Linked DNA regions of Homo sapiens: regions 1, 3, 4, 5 and 6 are each linked to region 2. Evidence: promoter capture Hi-C in human tissues and cell types (Jung and others, 2019). All regions are on one chromosome and are shown on one strand. The core of a region is centred on a gene start or on the middle of the fragment in contact, and the rest is flanking DNA. Distances in the headings are between cores, read along the strand shown. Region 1 has its middle 51 kb from the start of LRRC74B. Region 2 holds the start of PPIL2 (peptidylprolyl isomerase like 2). Region 3 overlaps CRKL (CRK like proto-oncogene, adaptor protein). Region 4 holds the start of THAP7 (THAP domain containing 7). Region 5 holds the start of AIFM3 (AIF family member 3). Region 6 overlaps PI4KA (phosphatidylinositol 4-kinase alpha).

Region 1 (4,338 bases), core at 166-2,665, 570 kb after region 2:
AACATAGTGAAACCCCTGTCTCTACTAAAACTACAAAAATTAGCTGGGTGTGGTGGCACACACCTGTAGTCCCAGCTACTCAGGATGCTGAGGCAGGAGAATCGCTTGAACCCAGGTGGAGGTTACAGTGAGCCGAGACCTCGCCATTGCACTCAAGCCTGGGTGGCAGAGTGAGACTCCATCTCAAAAAAGAAAGTGAGAAGGCCGGGCGCAGTGGCTCATGCCTGTAATCCCAGCACTTTGGGAGGCCGAGGCGGGTAGATTACCTGAGGTCAGGAGTTCAAGATAAGCTTGGCCAACATGGCAAAACCGTCTCTACCAAAAATACAAAACATTAGCCAGGCATGGCGGTGGGCACCTGTAATCCCAGCAACTTGGGAGGCTGAGGCAGGAGAATCCCTTTTACCAGGAGGTGGAGGTTGCAGTGAGCCAAGATCACGCCGTTGCACTCCAGCCTGGGCAACAAGAGCAAAACTCTGTCTCAAAAAAAAAAAAAGAAAAAAAGAAAGAAGGAGGGAAAGAAAGAAAAAAGAAAGGAAACTGAGGTCAGGCTATTTATTTTTCTAGCTCCCTCCTTGCCAAGTAACTATGGACTAGCTGTGTCCTTCAACCAAAGGACCCAGCATCTTCCTGGTGGCCCTCTCCCCACAGCCTTCTGTGTCTCTCAGCTCCTCATCTATTCATGACTAGGGCTTGTAATCAAGTCCCGCCACTGCTCTTCCCAGGGAGCTGCAGTATTCCTGGTGGTTTCCTGCTTCCTGTCTCTGCATTGCAGAATACTAAACTGGCTGCCAAGATTGTTGCTCCCCTGGTGAACACCCCCTGCATAATGCCCTCCCCTTGAGGATGGGCTGGACTTGCAAATATGATGGCATTTCACACTGTTATTAGGTTGACTTTGAGTTAATCAAAAGGAAGATTATCCTGGGTGGGCCTGGCCTAATCAGGTGACCCTTAGAAGTCAAAGAGAGTTGAAGAGTGAGAGACAGCCACCTGCTGGCCTTGAAGGAGCAAACATCCATGCTGTGAATTGCCTGTGGACTTTGAGTGTGGTCTCTAAAAGATAAAAGTGGTTCCTGGACAACAACCAGCAAGGAAGTGGGGGCTTCAGTCCTACAACCACAACTAACTGAATTCTGCCAACAACTGGAAAAAGTCTGAAAGAGAACCCTGAGCCTCAGATGAGATCACAGCCTCAGCAACACCTTGACTTTAAACTTGTGACACACTGAGGAGACAATCAGGCCATACCTGGCCTGTTAACTTACAGAACTATGACCTAATGGAGGGGTGTTGTTTAAAGTCACTAAGTTTGTAGTTATTTATTATGGAGAAATAGAAAACCAATATACTGTCGGGCGCAGTGGCTCATGCCTATAATCCCAGCACTTTGGGAGGCCGAGGCAGGCGGATCACCTGAGGCCAGGAGTTCGAGACCAGCCTGGCCAACATGGTGAAACCCCATCTTTACTAAATCAGCCAGGTGTGGTGGCAGGCACCTGTAATCCCAGCTACTCAGGAGGCTGAGGCAGGAGGATCGCTTGAACCTGGGAGCTGGAGATTGCAGTGAGCCGAGATCGAGCCACAGCACTCCAGCCTGGGCGACAGGGTGAGACTCCGTCTCAAAAAAAAAAAAAAAAAAAGAAAAGAAAAAAAAATCAATACACTGTCTGCACCTCTGTAAATGGTACCTGTATTAAACTTTTCTTAAATCAGACTAATACAACTTTGCCATCTAACTGCTTGGCTCTGATGGGTGCTTCATTTAACCTCTGCATGCCTCAGTTTCCTCAACTGTAACGGGAGATAATGGTAGCAAAACTCTTGTTAGGATGCCTTGTGGCCAGCACGGTGGCTCACCCCGTAATCCCAACACTTTGGGAAGCCGAGGTGGGCGGATCACCAGTGGTCAGGAGTTCAAGACCAGCCTGGCCGACATGGTGAAACCTCGTCTCTACTAAAAACACAAAATTAGCCAGACGTGGTGGCGAACGCCTGTAATCTCAGCTGCTCAGGAGACTGAGGCAGGAGAATCGCTTGAACCAGGGAGGCAGTCGTTGCAGTGAGCCGAGATCATACCATTGCACTCCAGCCTGGGCAACAAGAGCGAAACTCTGTCACAAAAAAAAAAAAAAAAAAAAAAGCCTTGCACTTTTAATTTATTATTTATTTTATTTATTTATTTATTTATTTATTTATTTATTTATTTTGAGACTGAGTCTTGGGCTGGAGTGCAATGGCACGATCTCAGCTCACTGGAATCTCTGCCTCCCAAGTTCATGCCATTCTACTGCCTCAGCCTCCCAAGTAGCTGGGATTACAGGCGTGTGCCACCACACCCGGCTAATTTTTGTGTTTTTAGTAGAGATGGGGTTTCACCATGTTGGCCAGGATGGTCTCGATCTTCTGATCTCATGAGCCGCCTGCCTCAGCCTCCCACCTTGCACTTTTTAAGGGTCCACCACATAAAGAATGAGAAGGATGGAGTCCTCCTGGGGGTCTTGTGGTCTTGTCATTCTGGCTGGAAAATCAAAGCCCTGAATGTGGGTGGTCCCACCCCTCCCTAACTTTCAGATGCCCAGTGCCTTTGGGATGAATACCCCACCCTTCATGCTCTGTTTTGACTGAAGATTAGGGGGATCTTAGTGCTTCTGGGGTGTAAAAAGCCATTGTGAATGGTTTGTGCATAACCCAGTTTCCAACAGAAGGGCCCATTCTATGGAGAAGCCCATTTAAATGGCCTCAGCACTGCTCCCTTCAATGCCTGGTGGCTGAAAGGAGAAGGGGAGAAATGGGAAACTCCTCTTCTTAACCAAATGTCTCAGGAGGGCTTTTACCTGGGGACCAAGTTTGTTAAGAGGTTGATCTCAGAGCAGTGGAGAAACAGCTCAGAGGAGAAGGAGCTGGACTGCTGGCACTCATCATCCATGACTGTCAACCAAAAGTGGCTCTGCAGCCTTTCCTACTATGACATGCTGCTTTAAATCTCTCTTCCACCCTGGTATCAAAGTACTTCATTGAACCGGGGAGGCAGAGGGCCACATCCCCTGTTCAGAGATTATCTTAAAAGACTCATTTACTCAGACTCTGCATAAGGGATATTGCAAATAAAACAGACACTATTCCTGCCTTCAAGGAGAGAACAGCCAGTGGATACTACAAAATGGTAGGAAAGACATAAAAAAACCTGGATTTATGATATTAGTATAGAATTATTAAGAGGAAATCTTGGCAAGCTCCCTGAGCAGTAGACCTTGTAAAAACAGGTGTACAAAATATATAGAGGGAGAGATCTGTGTTCAAGTAACTTTGATAAACTGGTTCAGTGAAATGATGTGGGTGTCATTATTACAGGACTTTTCAGTGCCTTTAATGTGACAATGTGCCTTGTGAATCTCTCTAAGTTTGGCCAGTTGTCAGAATCCCCCTGGAGGCTTCTCAAAATGACAAATACACCACAGGCCTATGGAATCAGAATCCTCAGAAGTCAGGCTCAGGAAACTGCAGTGTTAAAAGACCTGCCAGGATGATTTCTGATGGTCAGCTAACTTGACCCGGAGATTACAATTTATGACTATGGGAATTTCCCAAGCTTCTCTGACTCCTGAATATATCTGTTGGTACCTGCTGAAACTCTTCAGCATGCGTCAGTCTGGATACTGTTCCTAATTATATTTATTTATCTGTTGTCCTCCACTCACCATTAGGAAATCTGCTGTGGGAATCTCAGTTCAATCCAGATGTGTACATTAAAAGAGCCCGGTGCACCCTTCACCACAACCAGCCCAGTGTGAGGAGACAGATATCCCTGAGTGCTCCAAAGCAGATCATGCACCTCAGTCCCCTGGGATTTTTCCATTGCAGAGCCTCTGTTGGAAGATCTGGTTTTGTTCTGGGTTTTCCCAAGGATGGAAGGGCATGCAGAGAACCCACTAAGGAGATGTCTCCAGAGGCTGGAGCTGGGGCTGTCTGGGTGGGTACTGGGAGTCCTAAAGCAACCAGAAGGCAGTGAGTGAGTTCTAGAAAGAGAATGGTCTTAAAATGTGGGGGAGACATGGCTGTCTCAACTCTTGGTTCTGTCTGTACTCTACAAGATTTCAAGAGGCTGACTGCCAACGTACTAGTCACCTTCCTCCTAGGGTGCTCACTGGCTACCTTATTATCTTTCAACAGCCTCATGCTGATAGCACACCTTTTAAGAGGCAATATGGGGCCGGGTGCAGTGGCTCATGCCTGTAATCCCAGCACTTTGGGGGCCAAGGTGGGTGGATCACCTGAGGTCAGGAGTTTGAGACCAGCCTGACCAACATGGTGAAACCCCATCTCTATTTAAAATAG
Region 2 (4,854 bases), core at 28-2,527:
GCTACTCGGGAGGCTGAGGCAGGAAAATCTCTTGAAGCCGGGAAGCGGAGGTTGCGGTGAGCCAAGATCTCACCATTGCACTCTAGCTTGGGCAACAAGAGCGAAACTGCGTCTCAAAAAAAAAAAAAAAAAAAAATGAGGACTGAGGATTGAATACTATATTTAGCAACAAGAAGTCGCTGGGAACCTGAAAAGAGAGGCCGCTGAAGTCGAGAGAAAACAAAGAGCAGGTGAAATCCCAGATACCAAAGGAGGGCTTCAGAAAGAGGGAGTGGTCAACGGTGTGACATACTGTTGAGAAGCCCAACAGTTCTGGGGTCGAAATTCTGACTTGAGTGGTTTCAAGAGACTCAGAAAACAGCATGAAGCCACTAGTCTCTCACTTGTTCTTAAGAGAAACAACACGGCGGCAGCGGGAGGGGAACGTGGGACGTGGGGCACGGGGCACGGGTGGATTTTTAAATTTTATTTATTATTTTTGAGACAGCGTCTCGCTCTGTCGCCCAGGCTGGAGTGCAGTGACACGATCTCGGCTCACCGCAACCTCCGCCTCCCGGGTTCAAGCGATTCCCCTGCCTCAGCCTCCCAAATAGCTAGGATTACAGGCGCCCGTCACCACGCCCCGCTAATTTTTGTATTTTTAGTAGAGACGGGGTTTCACCGTATTAGCCAGGCTGGTCTTGAACTCCTGACCTCAGGTGATCCGCCCGCCTCGGCCTCCCAAAGTGCTGTGATTACAGGTGAGCCACTGCGCCCGACCTGGTTTGCTTTAAATTAGAAGGCTCTGCAGCACGTTTGCAGGCTGATAGGCATGAACCAGAACACAGCGAGACGTGAAGTACGGAAGAGGTAGAGACTACTCATTCAAGGGCGAAACTCGCGAACAGACGGGGGACGGTCCGGGCAGAACCAGAGTAAGGAAAACCGGGCTGCGCTCGAGCCCGCAGCTGACGTCATCGGAGCCGCGGCCCCGGGAGAGCGCGGCGGCCCGAGGGTCATTACCCTGACTGGAGACAGGGCGGCAGCTTCCGGGAGGAAGTGACCTTTGGGCTGTGCTCTGGGGAGTAGCTGAGAGGGAAGGCGAGCGGCGCGCAGTGCGGGACAGGCGGTTCACTGAGGCAGAGTGGAGCGCCGCTCCCGACTGCGGCTCAACTTACATTTTGTCCTTTTGGTGCTGTCGCTTCCCCATGGCGGAGCGGCGGCGGCGACTAGCGAGCACGAAAAAACAACGGCTGACAACTCAGACCATGGAGCCGCAGCCGAGTTCCGTGACCACTTCCGGGTTCCGCGGCGCGCCCCGGAAACGGGCGCCTGGCGTGCTGGGAATTGTGGTTCGCTAGCGCCAGGTGCTCATGCTCGGAAGGATCGCCTGCCCAGTATGGGGTCCTAGCTAGGTGTGCCATCTCCCGCAGGCGTCTTTTCGGGGCCGAGCTCCCTCAGCCTCGAAGCCCCATCTTCTTGAGGGGTCTGTCTGGACCGCCTTGTCTACCCCCCTAGCCACGGCTCAGGGCCATTCCCATACTGGGTTCTCAGGTCTTATTTATTTATTTTCGAGACAGGGTCTCGCTCTGTCGCCCAGGTTGGAGTGCAGTGGCACAATCACAGCTCACTACTGCCTCGACCTCCCAGGCTCAAGCGATTCTCCCACCTCAGCCTCCCGAGTAGCTACGGGCACGCACCACCACACCCGGCTAATTTGTTAATTTTTTGTAGAGACAGGCTCTTACAATGTTGCCCAGGCTGGTCTGGAGCTCTTGAGCTCAAGCAGTCCTCCCGCCTTGGCCTCCCAAAGTGCTGGGATTACAGGCCTGAGGCTTCGCGCCCGGCCAGCGCTCAGGTCTTTTTCAACGTCCTCCTAGAGCTTCAAGTCTCATGAGCCTCCACCCCATCCCTTCCCGCCTCCGTGGCAGATGCCTTCAAAGCCATGTACCACTCTCGTTCTACTCGCTCACTTCTCATTCTCTCTGCATATTCGGTCCCCACCGCCTCCAGGCCCCTCGGAGGCCCAGCAGCAGGTGGCCATCAAGCCTAGAGGTCCAAAGCCCTACCTGATCCCTTCCGTCTCTTCTGCCAGACCCTTCCCTTGGGTCAGATCAGTACCTTGGGCCCCTAGCTACACTCAGGCCCAGGGTAATCTTGCCTAGGCTCCTAATTTTAAATGCCATTTGTATCCCATGACTCCCAGTACTAAGTCACCAGCACTCCAGGTTCCTGATCTCCACTTGGGTAACCACTGATCTGAAATGTAACATGTCTGGATGGGCGTGGTGGCTCACGCCTGTAATCCCAGCACTTTGTGTGTGTGTGTGTGTGTGTGTGTGTGTGTGTGTTTAGTAGAGACGGGGTTTCACCATGTTAGCCAGGATGGTCTCGATCTCCTGACCTCCTGATTCGCCTGCCTTGGCCTTCCAAAGTTCCGGGATTACAGGCGTGAGCCACCACGCCCGGCCAATCCCAGCACTTTGAGAGGCTGAGGCAGGCGGATCACTTGAGGTCAGGAGTTCAAGACTAACCTGGCCAACATGGCAAAACCCCATCTCTACTAAAAATACAAAAAATTAGCCTGGTGTGGTGGCACACACCTGTAATTCCAGCTACTTGGGAGGCCGAGACAGTAGCTTGAACTGGGGAGGCAGAGGTTGCCGTGAGCCAAGATTAGGCCACTGCATCCCAGCCTGGGTGACAGAGTGACTCTGCCTAAAAAAATTAAATTAACATGTCTGGTCAAAGTAGAATTTTCTTTTTTTTTTTCTTTTTTTTTTTGACATGGAGTTTTGCTCTTGTTGCCCAGGCTGGAGTGCAATGGTGTGATCTTGGCTCACTGCAACCTCCGCCTCCCAGGTTCAAGCGATTCTCCTGCCTCAGTCTCCCAGGTAGCTGGGATTATTACAGGCATGCGCCACCACGCCTGGCTAATTTTGTATTTTTAGTAGAGAAGGGGTTTCTCCATGTTGGTCAGGCTGGTCTCGAACTCCCGACCTCAGGTGATCCTCCCGCCTCAGCCCTCCCAAAGTCCTGGGATTACATGCATGAGTCACCGCACCCGGCCATAAAGCAGAATTTTCAATCCTCCCTCTTCTCCCAGTCCCCACTCTGCTGAGCAGTACCACCATCCACCCAGTCACCGAAAGCCAGCTATCTTTGCCTTATTTCATGGCTGGCTTCTTATTCTCTAGGTTTTAACATAAGTGTCACCTCCCCAGAGAGACCTTCCCTAACCACCCACTTCCATGCATCTCCCATAAAGTCTGTCACAATTCCTCACAATTTGTAATCCTGTGTAATTCAGTCTGTGTCCCGGTTTACTGAGCACCCTCCCTGACACAACCACTGCCTCCATGACACACATACAGTGGATGGGATGTAGCTCCTTAAGGGCTGGAATCTTAGGCCCAGCATGGTGGCAGCACCTGTGATTCCAGCTACTTGGGAGGCTGTAGTGGAAGGATCACTTGAGGCCCAGGAGTTTGAGGCTGCAGTAAACTATGATCAAGCCACTGCACTCTAGCCTGGGCAACAGAGTGAGATCCTGTCTCTTTAAAAAAGGGCCGGGGTGTGGGGAGGGGACAGTCGGTGCGGTGGCTCACGCCTGTAATTCCAGCACTTTGGGAGGCTAAGGCGGTTGGATCACCTGAGGTCAGGAGTTCGAGACCAGCCTGGCTAACATGGTGAAGCCCTGTCTCTACTAAAAATACAAAAATTAGCTGGGCGTGGTGGCATGTGCCTGTGATCCCAGCTCCTCAGGAGGCCTGAGGCATGGTGATCGCTTGAACCTGGGAGGCAGAGGTTGCAGTAAGCTGAGATCGCGCCACTGCACTACAGCCTGGGCAACAGAGCACAACTCTGTCTCTAAATAAGCAAGCAAACAAATAAATACAAACCAATTAAAAATAACCCATTTGTGGTGATGCACCATGATGACTCAGTCAGAAAGCAAAATGCACCAATAACCTAAAAATTGACCCCATTGGAGAAATATTTCAAAAAGCAAGAACAGTTGAGTAAATGATGTTCCACCCGTTTGATGGAATATTTTGTATCTATTGTTATTGGTGAACTTAAAGATTTATTATTATTATTATTATTATTATTATTATTACTTTTTATTTTTTGAGATGGAGTCTCGTACTGTTGCCCAGGCTGGAGTACAGTGGCGTGATCTCGGCTCACTGCAAGCTCCACCTCCCGGGTTCAAGCAATTCTCCTGCCTCAGCCTCCCGAGTAGCTGGGACTACAGGTGCCTGCCTCCACCCTCTGGGCTCAAGAGATTCTCCCACTCACGCCTCCCAAGTAGCTGGGACTACAGGTGCGCACCAACATGCCTGGCTAATTTGAATACCTGAGCTCAAGTGATCCCCCACCTCACTCCTCCCAAATTGCTGGGATTACAGTAGTGCACCACCACGCTCGGCCAGAATTCTGAATTGTCTTTTTATAAAACAGTGTGAGTTCCTTACACAAAAAGTCCTCTGAATTCTTTTTTTTTTTTTTAAAGACAGAGTCTCACTTTGTCGCCAGGCTGGAGTTCAGTGGCACGATCTTGGCTCACTGCAACCTCTGCCTCCTGGGTTCAAGCGATTCTTCTGCCTCAGCCTCCCAAGTAGCTGGGACTGCAGGCATGAGCCACCACGCCCTGCTGATTTTTGTATTTTTAGTAGAGACAGGGTTTCACCATGTTGGCCAGGATGGTCTCCATCTCTTGACCTCGTGATCCGCCCGCCTCAGCCTCCTAAAGTGCTGGGATTATAGGTATGAGCCATTGTGCCCAGCCAAGGCCTTTGAATTCTTATTCATTGCTGGATGCAAAATGGTACAGTCTTTTTGGAAGACAGTTTGGCTATCGTACCCTATGAT
Region 3 (4,783 bases), core at 1,128-3,627, 740 kb after region 2:
TAACAGAGATGGGTTTCACATGCTGGCCAGGCTGGTCTTAAACTCCTGACCTCAAGTGATCTGCCTCCCTCGGCCTCCCAAAGTGCTGGGATTACAGACATGAGCCAACGTGCCCAGGCTTACTCTTTTTCCTTTTTTTTTTTTTTTTTTTTTTTTGAGACAGAGTCTTGCTCTGTTACCCAGACTGGAGTGCAATGGTGCGATCTCAACTCATTGCAACCTCCACCTCCCGGGTTCAAACAATTATCCTGCCTCAGCGTCCCAAGTAGCTGGGATTACAGGCATCTACCACCACGCCCGGCTAATTTTTGTCTTTTTAGTAGAGACAGGGTTTCACCACGTTGGCCAGGCTGGTCTCGAACTCCTGACCTCAAGTGATCCACCTGTCTTGGCTTCCCAATGTGCTGAGATTACAGGCGTGAGCCACGGCACCCTTACTCTTTTCTATGTATGAAATATTTCACAGTTAAAAAAAAAAAAAAAAAGGTAGAAAACTTAATTCCAGCTGGGCGTGGTGACTGGCTCATGCCTGTAATCCCAGCACATTAGGGGGCCGAGGCAATTGGATCACCTGAGGTCAGGAGTTTGAGACCAGCCTGGTCCAATATGGTGAAACCCCATCTCTACTAAAAATACAAAAATTAGCCGGGCATGGTGGTGGGCGCCTGTAATCGCAGCTACTCAGGAGACTGAGGCAGGAGAATCACTTGAACCCGGGAGGTGGAGACTGCAGTGAACCGAGATCATGCCACTGCACTTCAGCCTGGGCGACAGAGCGACACTGTCTCAAAAAAAAAAAAAAAAAATTCAATTCCAAGATGAGCTAAGTACTTCTCTAGTGAAACTGCTTTAACCACCATTCTTTTTTTTTTTTTTTTTTTTTTTTTGAGACGGAGTCTTGCTCTGTCACCCAAGCTGGAGTGCAGTGGTGCGATCTTGGCTCACTGCAATCTCTGCCTCCCAGGTTCAAGCCATTCTCCTGCCTCAGCCTCCCGAGTAGCTGGGACTATAGGCGCACGCCACCATGCCTGGCTAATTTTTTATATTTTAGTAGAGACAGGGTTTCACTGTGTTGGCCAGGCTGGTCTCGAACGCATGAGCTCAGGCAATCCACCTGCCTCCGCCTCCCAAGGTGCTAGGATTACAGGCGTGAGCCACCATGTCCAGCCAGTAACCACCATTCTTTATCACTGACCAGCATTTAATGCCCAGGTCCCCTCCCTTCTGTCCCTGGGCTTTCAGGCCATCACTAATGGCTCCTCCTCCTATGCTTGTGGCTGCCTCTCCTTCCGCAGCTTCTCTTTCTCTACTTATTCCTGTTCTGCCTCCTCATTCTGGGTGATCCCATCTAAGCTGCGATTCCCAAATCTATATGTATTCAGCCCTTACCTCTCTTCTCAATAACAAACCCATCAGATTGCTAAATACCACCTGGCTTCCAGCAGGTACCTCAAAGAAAGATTCTTCCTGTTGAAAAGAATCACGCACCCACCCTAATCCCTTTCTCTTGTCTCAAAGGCACCACTCAATCCTCTCTGAAGTCATCATACCTCTCCCCTCACCTTCTATGTGCCACTTTACATTCCTATGGCATTTGATCTTGGCTCAGCTTCTCAGGGTCCCTCTCCAGTAACAGAGAATTAGTCCTTCAGATCTTTCCCCACCCAGAGCAGTTTCTCAAAAGTAAAACTCATCAGTTCTCCTTTTAAAATCTGACAGTTCTCTTTTTAAAAACTTTAGATGGCTCCCATTGTTAAGCTCATTTACAAGGCTGAGGAGGCCCTTTACAAGTTGGCTTTATCTTTCCTTCCTAGGTTCCTGCCCATCATCTACATTAATTATAACTGTGTCTTTACCAGCAAGCACTGCCACCATCTCTTCTACCACCACCTCTTCTACCTCGTATACTTGTTCTCATCCTTAAAGAATCAGTTGAAGAGCATCTCCTCTTTCAAGCCTCTCCCCACCTCTTAGGTACAGTTGATTGCCTTTGCTTTTAAGCTGTCATGGCATTCTAATTTTTTCAATAGACCAAAGCTTCTCAAAGACAAAAATCAAAAACAAAAACATGGTTTACTTCCATTAGATTCCAAGAGTCTAGCAGTGAGCTTTGGTATATTGTAGGCCTCTATATATCAAAGAACTTCCCTTTCCTATTTCCCTCCTTTTTTGTTTCTGAAAGCACAAAAGCTCAGGTATTCAAATTACCTAACTCTGGTTTAATACTGTCACAAAACTGGTGTGACAGAATTCGAATACCGTTGAGTGTGCACCTTCAAAGCCTCTTCTCATCCTCTTCCACTGTTCTTGTCACGTTCATTCCAGGTGAGTTGCTATGTGCCTGGTGGCCCCACCCAACTTGTTATGATTTTAGCTCAGATTCAACTCAAGTTAATCTGAACTCCCAACTAATAGGCTGTGCCCCCTTTTACTTATCTGAAAGAATTAAAATAATGTTTTTTGTTTGTTTGTTTTTTGTTTTCCGAGACGAAGTCTCGCTCTGTTGACCAGACTGGAGTGCAGTGGCGCTGGCGCAATCTCGGCTCACTGTCATCTCTGCCTCCCAGGTTCAGTCTCGAACTCCCGACCTGCCAGACCTCCCAAAGTGCTGGGATTACAGTCGTGAGCCACCACGCCCGGCCCAGAATTAAAATATTTTAATCTTAAAGACCCTCAGAAATCTAGTCTAATCATTCAGATCAAAAGGAAAAATTTAGGTCACAATTCTGTGGATTTGAGTTTTAAAAGTCACAAATCGAATGGCTACTAGTACTTTCCATGGGAACACAACTCTTTTTTTTTTTTTTTTTTTGAGACGGAGTCTCGCTCTGTTGGCAGGCTGGAGTGCAGTGGTGTGATCTTGGCTCAGTGCAACCTCTGCCTCCCAGGTTCAAGCGATTCTCCTGTCTCAACCTCCGGAGTAGCTGGGACTACAGATGCATGCCACCACGCCCAGCTAGTTTTTGTATTTTTAGTAGAGACGGGGTTTCACTATGTTGGCCAGGATGGTCTTGATCTCCTGACCTCATGATCCGCCCGCCTAAGCCTCCCACAGTGCTGGGATTACAGGCGTGAGCCACCACATCCGGCTGGGAACACAACTCTTAATTGGACAAGATTCCATTCTCAGCATGACAGTGTTCTTGTTTTTTGTTTTTTTGGAGAGAGTCTCACTCTGTCGCCCAGGATGGAGTCCAGCTGCACGACCTCGACTCACTTTAACTTCCACCCCCCAGGTTCAAGTGATTCTCCTGCCTTTAGCCTCTTAGGCACACGCCGCCATGCCCAGCTAATTTTTTGTATTTTAGTAGAGACAGGGTTTCACCGTGTTGCCCAGGCTGGTCTCAAACTCCTGCACTCAGGCAATCCACCCACCTTGGCCTCCCAAAGTGCTGGGATTACAGGCGTGAGCCACTGCACCTGGCCATGTTCTTGTATTTTTCTCTGAATCAAATTCACATGATTTTAACTACTGGTCAGGAGAAACGCAAAGGGGTTTATTCACAGAGTTGAATTCTATGCTGATTAAAATTACTGGCAATCCTTTCCCCATTCCAAATTATGGAAGTCTAGATTTGAGTTCTTAAATAATTAGAACAGGGGATGTAAAGAGGAGGCACAACCATGCTTCTTGTTTCCTCCTGTCCCTTCAGGGATTGGCTTCTACTTCACAGGTGTGTGAGGCTCCTCTTCTGGGCTCTCAGGTTAGACTAAGCACCCTTTCTCAGTTCTCCCACAGCTGTTTCACCATGCATGGAGATTAAATATATTAAATATATACAACTTACATTCATTCATTCATTCATTTTTTGAGACAAGGTCTGGCTCTGTTGCCCAGGCTGAAGTGCAGTGGCATGATCATAGCTCACTGTAGCCTCGACCTCCCATGCTCAAGCAATCTTTCCACTTCAGCCTCCCAAGTAGCTGGGACTTAAAGGCGCATGACACCATGCTCAGCTAATTTTTTAATTTTTTGTGGGAATGGGGTCTCACTATCTTGCCAGGGCTGGTCTCAAACTCCTGGGATCTAGCGATCCTCCTGCCTTAACCTCCCGAAGTGCTGGGATTACAGGCACGAGCCACCGAGCACAGCCAACCTTTACATTTTTTTTTTTTTTAGTAGCCAGGCGCGGTGACTTACGCCTGTAATCCCAGCACTTTGGGAGGCCGAGGCGAGCAGATCCCCTGAGGTCAAGAGACAGAAAACCATCCTGCTCAACATGGTGAAACCCCATCTCTACTAAAAATACACAAATTAGCCAGGTGTGGTAGCGCGTGCGCCTGTAGTCCCAGCTACTTGGGAGGCTGAGGCAGGAGAATCACTTGAACCTAGGAGGTGGAGGTTGCAGTGAGCCAAGATTGCACCACCACACTCCAGCCTGGCAACAGAGCAAGACTCTGTCTCAAAAAAAAAAAAAAAAATGCCAGGCGCGGTGGCTCATAACTGTAATCCCAGCACTTTGGGAGGCCCAGGCGGGCGGTTCACGAGGTCAGGAGATCGAGACCATCCTGGCTAACACGGTGAAACCCCGTCTCTACTAAAAATACAAAAAGTTACCCGGGCATGGTGGCGGGCACCTGTAGTCCCAGCTAACTCAAGAGGCTGAGGCAGGAGAATGGCGTGAACCCAGGAGGCGGAGCTTGCAGTGAGCCAAGATCCCGCCACTGCACTCCAGCCTGGGCGACAGAACAAGACTCCGTCTCAAAAAAAAAAAAATTTTTTTTTTAGTAACCAGTAAGCTCCTCAGAAGCATGATAGGGCTGTCTGATTCAATGTTGGTTC
Region 4 (4,782 bases), core at 1,923-4,422, 660 kb after region 2:
TGAAACCCCATCTCTACACAAAATACAAAAAATTAGCCGGGTGTGATGGCACACACCTATAGTTCCAGTTACTTGGGAGGCTGAGGTAGGAGGATCACCTGAGACTGGGAGGCAGATGTTGCAGTGAGCCATGACTGCGCCACTGCACTCCAGCCTGGGTGACAGAACAAGACCCTTAGAAAAAAAAATACGAACATTTGGGTTTTTTATTATAAAAGTACTTATGTTGGCCAGGCACAGTGTCTCACACCTGTAATCCATTGGGTGGATGGCTTGAGCCCAGGACTTTGAGACCAGCCTGGGCAACGTGGCAAAACCTGTCTCTACAAAAAATAAAAAATTAGCTGGGCATGGTGGCACATTTCCTGTAGTGCTAGCTACTCAGGAGGCTGAGACAGGAGGACTGCTTAAGCCCGGGAGGTTGAGGCTGCAGTGAGCCAAGATGGCACCATTGTACTTCACTCTAACCTGGGCGACAGAGCAAAACCCATCTCAAAAAAAAAAAAAAAAAAAAAGCTGGGTGCGGTCAGTGGCTCACGCCTATAATCCCAGCATTCTGGGAGGCCAAGGTAGGCGGATCACCGGAGGTCAGGAGTTCAAGACCAGCCTGGCCAACATGGTGAAACCCTATCTCTACTAAAAATACAAAAATTAGTCAGGCATGGTGGCGGTTGCCTGTAATTCCAGCTACTCTGGAGGCTGAGGCAGGAGAATTGCTTGAACCCAGGAGGTGGAGGTTGCAGTGAGCCGAGATTGTGCCACTGCACTCCAGCCTGAATGACAGAGCAAGACTCCATCTCAAAAAAAAAAAAAAAAAAAAAAAAAAAAAAAAAAAAAAAAAAAAAACTTGATATGGGCCGGGCGCGGTGGCTCACACCTGTAATCCCAATACTTTGGGAGGCTGATGCAGGCGGATCACTTAAAGTGGGAAAATCGCTTGAACCCAGGAGGCAGAGGTTGCAGTGAGCCAAGATCACACCACTGCACTCAAGGCTGGGTGACAGAGTGAGACCCTGTCTCAAAAACAAAACAAAACCTGATATGTGGCAAAATACTGAAAGAATGCAGAAGACTGAAAAGCTGAAGTCCTCTTCTTCCCCAGAGCTGCTTCTGTCCTTTGAAAAACATTCTGTACATATTCAAGGCATATTAATCTCTTGTTATACAGGTGATGTTGACAGTGGCCAGCAGATATGTATGTCCCTTTCCTGTAGGTGACAGACCCAATTGCTGCACACAGGTGGTCACAGTAAACAGAAAGCTGGCAGCACTCCCACTTGGAAGGGCTGATAGGCTTGGCCTTAGAGTTGTGGGAGGACACTCCCTGATCAGGGTACGAACCCTTCTCTCTGCCCCTTCCAACTCCTGTGGAGTGTGTCTGTATCTAGTTGGTGCTAACTGCTACGTGCTTGGCAGGGCAAGGCAGGGTCACCACCTCAGCAGGCGTTTGTCCTCCTCCGGCATGATGCTACCCTAGCTGCCCAAGGTTCTAGCCTGTGTATGTTATTACATGGATTTTTTTACACATAAATACATAGACTTCAACTCACTTTTCTTTTTACAAAGTATACAATATACCTTGGATGTATTTATATCCCAAGACAGGGTTCTCATTCTTTTTCATGTGTTTTACTGTATGGGTAATATGGGTAATAATTTTTTTTTTTTTCTGAGACAGAGTCTCGCTCTGTAGCCCAGGCTGGAGTGCAGTGGCGAAATCTCAGCTCACTGAAATCTCCGTCTTCCGGGCTCCATCTTACATGCCCATAATCCCAGCTACTCAGGACGCTGAGGTAGGAGAATTGCTTGAACCTGGGAGACAAAGGTTGCAGTGAGCCGAGATTGCACCACTGCACTCCAGCCTGGGCAACAGAGCTAGACCCTGTCTCAACAACAACAACAAAGAAGGAGGAGAAGGAGGAAGAAGGAGAAGAAAAGAAAAAAAAAAGTCGTCAAAGGATATTAATTGTCGATAGATAACAGATAATGCCAAAAAATATAGAAGCAATTCTTAAAACACAGTGTTGGAACTGGTCCACAGCTCTGATTTTTAATGAGCTCCCATTTCTGAGGCCAATATAAACTTCATTCTATGCTGCCCATCTCTGACAGGTGGGCATTAACTACCAGCCCCCCACGGTGGTCCCTGTGGGAGACCTGGCCAAAGTGCAGCGGGCGGTGTGCATGCTGAGCAACACCACGGCCATCACGGAGGCCTGGGCCTGCCTGGACCATAAGTTCGGCCAAGTGCGCCTTAGTGCACTGGTACGTGGGGGAGGGCATGGCAGTGGGGGAATTCTCCGAGGCCCGCGAGGATCTGGCAGCTCTGGAGGATTATGAAGATGTGGGCATGGATTCCGTGGAAGCTGAGGCTGAAGAAGGCGAAGAATAGTGAGGGGAGGGTGCGGCAGGCAACCATCCCTCTGTATTCCCCACCATAACGCTAGGAGAGCTAATTACCTATTAAAATTTCCGTATTGCAAATTAGCCGGGCGTGGTGGCGGGCGCTTGTAGTCCCAGCTACTGTGGAGGGTGAGGCAGCCGAATGGCGTGAACCCGGGAGGCGGAGTTTGCAGTGAGCCGAGATCGCGCCACTGCACTCCAGCCTGGGCGACAGAGCGAGACTCCGGTCTCAGGAAAATAATAATAAAATAAAAAATAAAATTTCTGTATTGCGATACTGTCTTTCTCCTGTGTTGTACTTTGAGAGATTCCTCCTCCAGATAACCCTCCCTGAAGTCCACCTCCCCAGTACGAGAGTGAGTGCGGGCTCTGGTTTTTGTCGGGTTCTTTCGTGCAAGCGTCCCAGGCCCCGTTTTATTTCTTCCGTCAGAGGTCATTCCGAGGCGAGCTGCCGCCCCTGCGGCTTTCGAGGCTCCCAGGACACTGCCGCTTTCCGCTCCCGGGCCGCTCCCGAACGCTGGGGCCGCTCCATCGTGCCGGGGTGTTTACGGAGAAAAGTGAGGCCTGAGCGGACGAAAGAGAAGCCCACGTGGGCGACAATACTGGTAGTCCAGGGAGCTGGGACGACGCGGGCGCGTCAGAAACTCGCACGCTCGCGCCGCTTACTAACCCAGCTAGCTAGGACCTCGCCCCGCCCCGCCCCGGTGGCGGGGGCACCTCCGGCTCTCCAGTCTCTATGGTACCAACTTCCGGCGCGCGCTACCCCTCGCGAGACTTCGGCGGCGCAGCAATGGCCAGAGCGTGAGTGCCGCTGACAGAAGTCAAGAGAATCGGCTGGGACGGGGTTGGGGCGACAACGGGCCGGGGGGGACCCGACAGGCCAGAGCCCCTTGGGGAGGAGCGGCGGCTGGAGGCGCGAGGCTCCTCCGGATGCCCGGAGAGCCGCTTGCGACTTAACTCCCGCCTCTTTCCCAGATGCCGCGTCACTGCTCCGCCGCCGGCTGCTGCACACGGGACACGCGCGAGACGCGCAACCGCGGCATCTCCTTCCACAGGTCAGCGCGCGTGCGCCGCGGGCTCACGTGCGCATGCGCTAGTTGTTGCTCGCCTCGGGTCGCAACTGCGTAGAGGCTTCGCGCCTTTCTCAGATACTGAGGAGGCTTGAACCTGTGGGTGGGAGGTGAAGCGGAACGGTCCCGGCGGGACTGAATGCAGTCGGGAAGGGGAGGACGGGAAGTCTAGCCGGCTTGGACCCGCCCCACTCTGTTACCTGCCAGATGACGCTGAGGAAACTGCTTTTCTTCTCGAGGCCTCCGTTGCCTCGTCTGTGCCCGGGCGGTGGTGCTTACCCGGCGGGGTCGCAGGGAGGTCTCGTGGCGGCGCGTGTTGGGTCTGCGTTTCCCCTCTGGGGTGCTTGGGCAGCATGAGCCCAGGGCTGTGGACAGCCTGGTGCTCACGGGTTTGTGGCTCCACAGACTTCCCAAGAAGGACAACCCGAGGCGAGGCTTGTGGCTGGCCAACTGCCAGCGGCTGGACCCCAGCGGCCAGGGCCTGTGGGACCCGGCATCCGAGTACATCTACTTCTGCTCCAAACACTTTGAGGAGGACTGCTTTGAGCTGGTGGGAATCAGGTGGGCCTCCCTGCCGGCCGACGCTGGGGTAGGATGTGGGGCTCCCGGCGGACTGGGACAGCTGCAGGTCATGGAAGTCCCTTGAGCAGCCTGCGTCCAAGGGGGCTGTTTCCTGTTCCCAGCTCTGCACAGTGAAACCCACCCCCAGGATCACTGTGCCTGTGACACAAGGGGAAAACAGGAGCCTTTCCAGAGAGTATCTTTCAGAGCCCCAGTCTTGCCAGCAAGTCCACAAATCAAAGAATTCTTTCTGGCTGGTCAGCCCAGCTCGGCTTATGCAGGCTTTCCACACACCTGGACTGTGAGGAGTCCTGCGGGGAAGCGATTGGTGTAGCTGTAACTTGGCGTTCCCCAGACGTATTGTTTGCACGATGCCTTCCAGCATCCCACGGCGCTGCTGCTGGGGGCAGATTGGCCTGGGGAGGCAGCACTTGCTCTCCAGCTCATCTGGGTTGCTTTTCCCCGCAGTGGATATCACAGGCTAAAGGAGGGGGCAGTCCCCACCATATTTGAGTCTTTCTCCAAGTTGCGCCGGACAACCAAGACCAAAGGACACAGTTACCCACCTGGCCCCGCTGAAGTCAGCCGGCTCAGACGATGCAGGAAGCGGTATGTGATATGGGTGGGGGATGCCCCACTCCCACCCCTAGGCTGAGGGACTGGGCCCTAGGGGTGTCTGCCAGCAGTCTCGCTGGACAGGGTTCTTGCTACACAGAACCTGTGGATCGGGTTTGGGTGTTAAGGGTGG
Region 5 (4,395 bases), core at 836-3,335, 700 kb after region 2:
CCCAAGGCCACACAGCCAGAAAGGGGCAGGGCTGGATTTGCCTAAGTTCTTAGGACTGCCTTTGGTGAGGGTGGCCACCCCCGACACTGGAAGTCCTGGGGCCACGGGTCCCAGGCAGGCCAGCCATTTGGGGTCCTTTAAAAGAACCTGCAGGTGGCATCTTCTGCCAGGGCCTCCTGCCAGCCCAGCGGTGCCACAGACGCCTGGTATGAGGCCAGCTGGCATCATCCCACCCACTGCTAGGGGGAGACAATGGACGTCATCTGCCCAAGGCACATTTTGAGGCAGAGAGGGATCCAGCCCAGGCCTAGGTGTCCACAGCACAGGAGCGGGGGAGGAAGAGTGGCTTCTTGGAGCAGAGGCAAGTGGGTCCCTCTGCCTGGTGGGTCATCACAGCCCTCCTCCCTCGCCCAAGTTCTCCCTTAGACCCAGGAAAGGGAGAAAAGCCTCACAAGTTCCAAGGTAACGGAGCTGATGGGTATCAGGTAAGGGGAGCTGGGGTGAGCTGGCTGGGGTGAGCTGGCTGGGGTGAGCTGGCTGGGGCAGCGTGGCCTGGCAGGTTGAGTGGAGCACTGGCTGCGCTCTTGAGGTCTCTCTAAGCCTCAGTTTCTCCACCTGTGACAAAGCTGCACACTCCTGCCTCCCCAGGTGTTGTGAGGAGAGAAGAGGGAAAGTGGGGGGCCAGAGGGAGAGCTCCGCAGACATGAGTCTTTAGTGGAGAAAAGACCCAGGCCTCCCCTAGCACCCCAGGACACTCCCACTTCTGGCTGGAGTAGCTCAGGCTAGGTTGGATGGTGATTTCCTGTATAAATGGGGAAGTGTGCCCAGAAAGGCCAAGAAGGCAGCCCGAGACCACACAGGGGATCAGAGGAGGCAAAGAGAGCCAGGATCTGCCCACTACACCCTCACAGCAACTCTAAGAGGTCAGGGTGGCCAGGCCCTCTCTTTTGCAGAGAGAAAAACAGAGGCTCAGAGGGGTAACTTGCATGCCCTAGGTCACAGAGTGGCTGAGCGTGTCCCCAGCTCCCCCCTTCCCTGGCCCTGGGGGCATAGCCCCTTCCCCAACCCTGCAACAGGAGGAACCCTGACTTTCCTTTTCCAAGAAGGGTCCTGCTGTTATTCCCACCACCAACACTCAAAGCCCCAAAGAAAAAGGGGCACCCACTGGAGCAGGGGCCAGCTGGGGGAACTGCTCCAGGCCCCCTACCCCCTCCTGGCGGCAGCGTATTAACATTCCGAGCGGGTTCTTGGATAGCCTGACCTACTTCGGAGGCCTACCGAGTGCAGAGGGGGAGGGGGGGGAGACGGGGGAGGAGGAGGCGGGGAGGGAGGAGAAAGGATGGAGACAAGAAGACAGGAGGTACCTGGTTTGGGTTTGGAGAAGCAGCCGCCCATGGCGAGTGGCCTGAGGATGGCCGGCAGGCAGGAGCACAGATGGGGAGCTGTCGGAGGCCTAGGGCGCCCCCCATGGGGCTGGACCCCCTGCAGGCCTTAGAGACGCTGGAGCCGCCATCCTGCTGGAGCTGCTCTAGGACCTGCAGGGGAGACTGGAGCCATCAGGACCGGGGCGTGTGGGCAGGTAGAGACACAGAGGGACGGAGAGAGACAGTGGGAGCTTCGGAAAGAGTCTTACATTTGAGCTGGGAACCATGGCGTGAGCCTGATCCCAGAGCGTGGGGCCCTGGAGGTCACCTCCCCTTTGAAGCCCTCCAAGCTCAGCTCCCTCACTCCTCCAGTGGAGTTCCTCTGCCCGAACCTCGGCCGCCCATCGTCCAGCCCCGCGGCTGCCTTGCCCAGGAAATCCTCCCTGATTTCTACTGCCTCCTCGTGCCCCCCTTCCCCTCTCCAAATCCCACAGCCTGAGAGCTCTGGGACCCTCCATTCTCCCGGGAGACCACTATGCCTAGGCTCAAAGAGGGGGTCACCTTGGGGAAGCCAAAGCCCTTCTCATCCTTGGTCTTCTCCCTCCTACAATGGGGGTGACATCAGGCTCCCCCTAGCCCAGCCCCACCCTGGCTAGCACTCCGGACACCCACCTCCTCGCAGGGCAGCCACTGCTCCGTGTTCCAGGCCCAGCAGTGGACTGAGGCTGCCGGGCCTTGGAAGGCCGGGCAGGGAGGGCAGGGGTCCAGGAGGCGGCCCAGCCTCCACCCTCCTCCCAGCTCAAGCTGTGGCCAGGAGGGGCTGGGGGGCGGTGTGGGGCTGGGCCAGTCCACTGGTCCCCAGGGAAACCCTGCTCTGTGGTGAACAGAAGTGGGCGGCCAGCCCGGGCCTGATGGGGTTAGGGGAAAGGGAAGCCAGGCACACAGCCCTGCCACGCCTGTGCCCAGCAGCCATAAGCTCCCCCTACCCCCGACTCCAGCCCTTCACAAACGCCCACCAGGCCTGTGGGCAGTCATGCCCAACAGCATATGGGGAAAGCAAGGGGTCAAGGTCCCATCAAGGTCAAGCAGCAGGGGCATCCCTGTGGCCTCCCACCCCACCCTCCCACCTTGATCAGTTTTAAGGTGGGCAGGGGCCCAGAAAGCCCCCATATCACCCTAAGGCCCTGCAAGGTGCCCTGGGGGAGGGGACACCTGCACAGCAGAGAGATCACTGTAGCCAGGTGCCTTCCAGGCTACAGGGTGGGCCTTCCGGAAGATGCAGCCTACAGGTGGACTTTGGAAGGCCCAGGGCACAGGCATAAGCTGCCTTGTTTGCAAATGACCTCCCCACAGTCCATCCCACTGCCATCCTCCAGTTTCCTCTGGAAGTTCTTCCTGAAGTCTCACTTGAGGTGGGGCTGAGACCCACCTGGTCTGGTCCAGATACCAGGAAGGGCCGTGGGTGGGTGCCTGAGAGCAAGGGGTGGAAACAAAAGGCCAGGTTGGAGAGGGACCCTTGGTGCCTGGCCCCTGCGCCTGTCGGTCCTCGAGGTGCCCATTACAGGGGAGGAGGCGGTGGCTCCCACAGCCACTGGGGCGTGCCTTGGCTCTTTCCCCCACTTGTCATCAAAGAAGGTCTGTAAAACTCAACTGCCACCTGCCCCACCTGCCCCTTCCCTGGGCACTAGGCTGTCCCTTCCTGGGTCCTGGTTTCAGCCCTGGTTCAGCCCTGCCCGCTTCCTTCCTGGCTGACCTCAGGCCTCACCTGATGGGCCACAGATCCCAGAAAAGGTCAGACCTGGTCTTGCCACTGGGGACCTGCCCAGGCTGTGCTGTCCCTTCCCGAGTACCCAGGGACCTGAATCCCCCAGGGCCTGGGCCAGGAAGGAGACTGGGTGGGGCCCCTGTGCCTTCGGCCTACTGTGTGCTAGATCGGCTTGGAGCCCAGTCACCCCACTCAAAGGCAAAGGTCCTTGCCAGGGGCAGGGCAGGAGGGACCCCCAGAGTGCAGAGCGCCCGAGTGCTATTCCTTGCCCATGAGCTGCCCACTGCAGAAAAGTTCTAGCAGAGCCCAGTGCTAACCACCCAGCAGGAGTCTGTGTCTGTCCCAGGGACCCCAGGACCTGTGAGGCGGGACTGGATTACTCCCATCTCACAGAGCGGCCCCTGCTCCACCTGACCCTCCCAGGGCTCCTGGCGCCCCCAGGGTGCAGGCTGGGCAGGGTCCTCTCCCCACTCCTCCACCTCTCGCCACCTGCCCCCACTGCCTCATCCCAAGGGCTCCTGCCCAGATCGGACTCCCAGTGGCTTCCAGGCGTCCTAGGGGTGGCATCTGATCCCAGTCCTGCCTTCGAGTGTGGGGGCTCCGCGCTCTCCCCTCCCCCACGGAGCTCAGGGCAAGCCTCTGTCCACTCTCCCCGCCTCTGCACGTGCAGTTCCCTCTCTCTGGGAAGCCGATGCCAGCAGCCTCGCCGGCTCCGTCCCGTTGCCCCCGCCAGACCTTGCAGCCCGAGAAGGGGGACTGGCACACAGTGGGGCCCCGCGGCGAGCCGGGAAGGGGCCGTTGTGGGACGAGAGAAGGACGAGGTGAGCTTCGGACCCCGGCCAGTGCCTCTGGCCCCGCTTGCCAACCCCCAGCCCCTAACGTGCCGGGCCGGGGTCCGAGACTTGGGAGCGCAAGCGCTGGCCCCCGGCGCCGGGGCGAAGAGGCGGGGCGGCGGGCGGGGACCGGGGTTCCGGGGACCAGGGTCCCCGGGGCGGGCGCTCACCTGGGCTCGGCGCGGGCCTGGGCTCGGGAACCGCTTGGGGCCGCGGGCGCGGGGGGGCGGGGAGGCGCGGGCGGGGCGTGTCTGGCGCTGCGTTTGCACTGCGGCCGGGGAGCCCGCGGGCCCAGCACCGCCCCGCCGGGCCGGAGCAGGTGGGGGGCGGCCGGGGGACAGGGGCAGGCCGAGGCCCTCGGCGTCCGGACCGGAGTCGCGGGGCGTAGGGAGGCAGCCAGGGGCCGCTCTGGCCGGGGGCGCCCCGGGCCCGA
Region 6 (4,397 bases), core at 1,552-4,051, 820 kb after region 2:
GAGGAGAGAGATAATGAGGGTCAGCGGAGGGTATACGCGGTGCCAGAATCATTGTTATTAAATCAACTAGAAAATATTTTAAGAAGAAATTGGAAGAAGAAAAAATCTTTACCTGTAACCATGCCATATTAACTATTAGTTTGCTAGGCTGCCATAACAAAGTACCACAGACTGGCTTAAACAACACAGATATATTTCCTCCTCATTCTGGAAGTTAGAAGTTCAAGATGAAGGTGTCAGCAATGTTGATTTCTTCCGAGGCCACTTTCTCCCTCTGCCTTCACGTAGCCTTCCCTCAGTGCCCTCCTGTGTCACCAGCTGTTTGTCTCCCCAGGGGGCAGAAATGTTCTATTTCTCACTCCTTACTGCAGATTCTCTTTTCTGCTGTCTGTGTTTGCAGTTTGCACTCATTGGAGGTGTGGTTGCCTCTAATCTTTCCCACCAGCAGCTATTTCCATCATTGACGTCAGTTGCTGAAATTTATGCATTTTATCTTCCTGATTGCTTATTTGTTTATTTATTTATTTACTTTTTGAGATGGAGTCTTGCTCTGTCACCCAGGCTGGAGTGCAGTGGCGTGATCTCTGCTCACTGCAAGCTCTGCCTCCTGGGTTCATGCCATTCTCCTGCTTCAGCCTCCCGAGTAGCTGGGACTACAGGCGCCCGCCACCACGCCCGGCTAATTTTTTGTATTTTTAGTAGAGACAGGGTTTCACTGTGTTAGCCAGGATGGCTTATTTATATTTTTATTTTTGTATTTGCTTTTGTTGTATATGTTGGCATGCTGGAGAAAAGCTTGGCCTTTCATGAACATTGCCAAGTTGGCCAGAACGCTACTTTCATTTGTGTGGTAAACTGACAAATAAATACAGAGTTGAGGCAGAAATCCTCAGGTCTCACTTGCATTTGTTTATTGAGTCCTGAGAGGCTCTGTCTCTGCTGCAGAAGCCATTCTCTTTTCCTGAATGTTTTTCTGTGTTTAAAGCTTATCTGGAAGCCTGGATTCAGGATAACCAACGCAGCCGGGCACAGTGGCTCACGCCTGTAATCCCAGCACTTTGGGAGGCTGAGGCAGGCACATCACCTGAGGTCAGGAGTTCGAGACCAGCCTGGCCAACATGGTGCAACCCTGTCTCTACTAAAAATACAAAAATTAGCAGGGCGTGGTGGTGTGCGCCTGTAAGCCCAGCTACTTGGGAGGCTAAGACAGGAGAATTGCTTGAACCCGGGAGGTGGTGTGGTGAGCTGAGATTGCACCACGGCACTCCAGCCTGGGCGACAGAGCAAGACTCCGTCACACAAAAAACAACAACAACAACAAAAAAAACCCAAGGCTATACTATTATGAAAGCAAAAGATGGCACCATCCGTTCATATGATAAATCTTTGGGGGTTTGCTGTGTTGCAGGCACTGTGCTAGGCCCTGGTATTAGAGGGGTGGATAAATAGACATTAAAAAAAAAATAGATAGGGTCTCACTGTGTTGCCCAAGCTGGTCTCAAATTCCAGGGCTCAAGCCGTCTGCCCACTTCGGCCTCGCAAAGTGCTGGGATTATAGGCATGAGCCACTGTGCCTGGCCTAGACATTTTTAAAAATAGAAATTACATTTTTTTGGAGACAGTTTTGCTTTTTCACTCAGGCTGGAGTGCAGTGGCATGATCATAACTTACTACCACCTTGAATTCCTTGGTTTGAGGGATCCTCCTGCCTCAGCCTCCCAAGTAGTTGGGACTACAGGCACGCACATTGTACCTGGCTAAGTAAAAAAAGAAAAATTTTTTTAGAGATGGGGTCTTACTATCTTGCCCAGGCTTAGCTCAAACCGTGGGCTCAAGTGATCCACTCACCTCAGCCTCTCAAAGTGCTGAGATTATAGGCTTGAGTCACTGTACCCAGCGAAAATTTTAAAAAATTTTAGTAGGCCGGGCGCGGTGGCTCACACCTGTAATCCCAGCACTTTGGGAGGCCGAGGCGGGCGGATCACGAGGTCAGGAAATCCAGACCATCCTGGCTAACACGGTGAAACCCCGTCTCTACTAAAAATACAAAAAATTAGCTGGGCGTGGTGGCCTGTAGTCCCAGCTACTGGGGAGGCTGAGGCAGGAGAATGGCATGAACCTGGGAGGCGGAGCTTGCAGTGAGCTGAGATCACGCCACTGCACTCCAGCCTGGGTGACAGAGCAAGACACCGTCTCAAAAAAAAAAATTTTTTTTTAAATGAGTATTTATAGTCCCAGAGACCTATGGGGACTCCTTTAGCATGCGCCACCACAGTCAGCTAATTTTTTGTATTTTAGTAGAGACGGGGTTCCAGGCTAGTCTTGAACTCCTGGCCTCAAGTGATCCACCTGCCTTGGCCTCCCAAAGTGCTGGTGTTAACAGGCGAGCCACCGTGCCTGGCTTGAGTGTTTAGATTTTTGTTGTGTTACTTTAGGGAATGTTGGGCTTTGTTCTGGTCGGCAGTTGCTTGTGGTTTGATTTGATCCTTCATAGGCTAGGTTTTTCAATAGTGCTTTCTTGAGATATAATTCACATACCACAAAATTTACCCATTTAAAATGTACAGTTCATCATATTTAGTGTATTCACAGAGTTGTCCATCCATCACCATGATCAATTTTAGGTCATTTTCATTGCCCTCAAAAGAAACCTTGCTGTTACCCTGCAGCCCTACCAGCCCCATCCCTAGACAACCACTAGTTTACTTTCTGTCTCTGTAGATTTATTCTGAACATTTTGTAGAAATAGAATTCTATAAGATGTGGTTTTTTGTGGTGGCTTATTTTTATTTTTATTTTTTTTTGAGACAGAGTTTCGCTCTGGAGCCCAGGCTAGAGTGCAGTGGCGCGATCTCGGCTCACTGCAAGCTCTGCCTCCCAGGTTCACACCATTCTTCTGCCTCAGACTCCCGAGTAGCTGGGACTACAGGCGCCCGCCACTGCGCCCGGCTAATTTTTTGTATTTTTAGTAGAGGCAGGGTTTCATCGTGTTAGCCGGATGGTCTTGATCTCCTGACCTTGTTGTGATCCACCTGCCTCGGCCTCCCAAAGTGCTGGGATTACAGGTGTGAGCCACTGCACCTGCCATGATGGTTTTTACTTGGCGTATTTTCAAGGTTCATCCATGTTGTAGCATCTCATTACTTCATTTTTATTACTAAATAATATTTGTATGCATATACCATATTTTATCCATTCATTAGTAGGTGGATGTTTGGATTGTTTCTACATTTTGACTATTATAAATAACGCTGCTATGGAAATTCACGTACAAGTGTTTCTGTAGACATATTTTCATTTCTCTTGGGTCTTTAACTAGATGTGGAATTGCTGGGCCATACAATAACTCTAGGTTTAACCTTTAGAGGAACTCCAGACTGTTTTCCAAAGTTACTACACCATTTACATTCCCACCAACGGTGTACAGAGGGCTTGTTTTCTTTACATTGTCACCAACACTCTGTATTGTCTGTCTTTCCAGTTATAGCCATCCTAGTGGATGTGAAGTGGGATCTTATTATTCTGTTGTTGATATGCATTTGCCTGATGGTTAATGATGTTGAGCCAGCCTATTCTATCCTAGAACAGCCACTCTTTTGGGGTATTTGTAGATCTTCTTTGGAGATATATCTATTCAGATTCTTTGCCCAATTTTAAATTGTAGTATTTTTTTAATTAAGTTGTAATAGTTCTTTATTTTAGATAAAAGTTTCTTAATAAGATATATGATTTGCAAATATTTTCTCCCATTCTGTGGGCTTTTTCACTTTCTTCATGGTGTTCTTTGAAGTACAAAAGTTTTAAATTTTGATGATGTCCATTTTGTCATTTTTTTTTTCTTTTGTCCCTTGTGCTTTTTGTGTTGTATCTAAGAAACCACTGTCTAATTTCAAGGTCACAAAGACTTACACCTGTGTTTTTTGTTAGCAGTTTTATAGTTTAGCTCTTACATTTGAGTTTTTGATCCATTTTGAGTTAAGATTTTATGTGATATGAGATGGGGGTCCAGTTTCATTCTTTTGCATGTGAATATCCAGTTGTCTCAGCACGATTTCTTGGAAAGACTATTCTTTTTTCCATTGAGGGGTCCTGGAACCCTTGTCAAAAATCAGTTGACTGTAAGTGTGAGGGTTTATTTGGTCTGTATGTCTTTCCTGATGTTGGCTAGTATACTGTCTTGATTACTTTAGCTTTGTAGTAAGTTTTGAAATTGGGAAGAATGAGTCCTCCAATTTTGTCCTTCCTTTTCAAGATTGTTTTTGTTATTCTGGGTCCCTTGAATTACCATGGAAATTTTAGGGTTAGCATGTTAGTTTCTGCAAAGAACTCACCTAGGGTTTTGACAGGGATGGTGTTGAATTTGTAGGTTAGTTTGGACTGTATTGCTATATTGTCCC

Evidence for each region. The method cuts DNA at HindIII sites, captures the fragments that hold promoters and counts their contacts. A contact is called where the count stands out against the background at its distance.
Region 1: a contact is called between a fragment that was not itself captured here and the fragment with the promoter of PPIL2 in region 2, in 1 of the 25 tissues and cell types used here (lymphoblastoid cells).
Region 3: a contact is called between a fragment that was not itself captured here and the fragment with the promoter of PPIL2 in region 2, in 1 of the 25 tissues and cell types used here (dorsolateral prefrontal cortex).
Region 4: the fragment with the promoter of THAP7 here is called in contact with the fragment with the promoter of PPIL2 in region 2 in 2 of the 25 tissues and cell types used here (dorsolateral prefrontal cortex and spleen).
Region 5: the fragment with the promoter of AIFM3 here is called in contact with the fragment with the promoter of PPIL2 in region 2 in 5 of the 25 tissues and cell types used here (adrenal gland, dorsolateral prefrontal cortex, heart right ventricle and 2 more).
Region 6: a fragment that was not itself captured here is called in contact with the fragment with the promoter of PPIL2 in region 2 in 1 of the 25 tissues and cell types used here (dorsolateral prefrontal cortex).

The regions. Positions count from the first base shown.
Region 1 is chr22:21,094,927-21,099,264 of GRCh38, reverse strand. No RefSeq gene overlaps it. Among named protein-coding and RNA genes, the nearest start is that of LRRC74B, 51 kb to the right of the region's middle. The HindIII fragment of the contact is 6,514 bases long and covers 1-4,338 here.
Region 2 is chr22:21,662,435-21,667,288 of GRCh38, reverse strand. It overlaps PPIL2 (peptidylprolyl isomerase like 2), which reads right to left and starts at 1,277. Exons shown (of 20, transcript NM_014337.4): 1 at 1,158-1,277. The coding sequence starts at 1,189. RefSeq lists enhancers at 841-890, 961-1,200, 435-1,345. The HindIII fragment of the contact is 22,549 bases long and covers 1-4,854 here.
Region 3 is chr22:20,923,216-20,927,998 of GRCh38, reverse strand. The region is part of intron 1 of CRKL (CRK like proto-oncogene, adaptor protein); the gene reads right to left. Among named protein-coding and RNA genes, the nearest start is that of CRKL, 8.2 kb to the right of the region's middle. RefSeq lists an enhancer at 2,721-3,368. The HindIII fragment of the contact is 3,637 bases long and covers 559-4,195 here.
Region 4 is chr22:21,000,508-21,005,289 of GRCh38, reverse strand. It overlaps THAP7 (THAP domain containing 7), which reads left to right and starts at 3,172. Exons shown (of 4, transcript NM_030573.3): 1 at 3,172-3,458; 2 at 3,879-4,034; 3 at 4,503-4,643. The coding sequence starts at 3,379. THAP7-AS1 (THAP7 antisense RNA 1) reads right to left here and starts at 3,368. Exons shown (of 2, transcript NR_027051.1): 1 at 2,461-3,368. RefSeq lists silencers at 2,177-2,567, 3,209-3,318, 3,339-3,508 and an enhancer at 4,109-4,318. The HindIII fragment of the contact is 9,660 bases long and covers 2,765-4,782 here.
Region 5 is chr22:20,964,945-20,969,339 of GRCh38, reverse strand. It overlaps AIFM3 (AIF family member 3), which reads right to left and starts at 2,085. Exons shown (of 21, transcript NM_001386814.1): 1 at 2,037-2,085; 2 at 1,365-1,535. The coding sequence starts at 1,395. The HindIII fragment of the contact is 23,315 bases long and covers 1-4,395 here.
Region 6 is chr22:20,848,261-20,852,657 of GRCh38, reverse strand. All of the region lies in intron 1 of PI4KA (phosphatidylinositol 4-kinase alpha), which reads left to right. Among named protein-coding and RNA genes, the nearest start is that of PI4KA, 8.4 kb to the left of the region's middle. The HindIII fragment of the contact is 9,318 bases long and covers 1-4,397 here.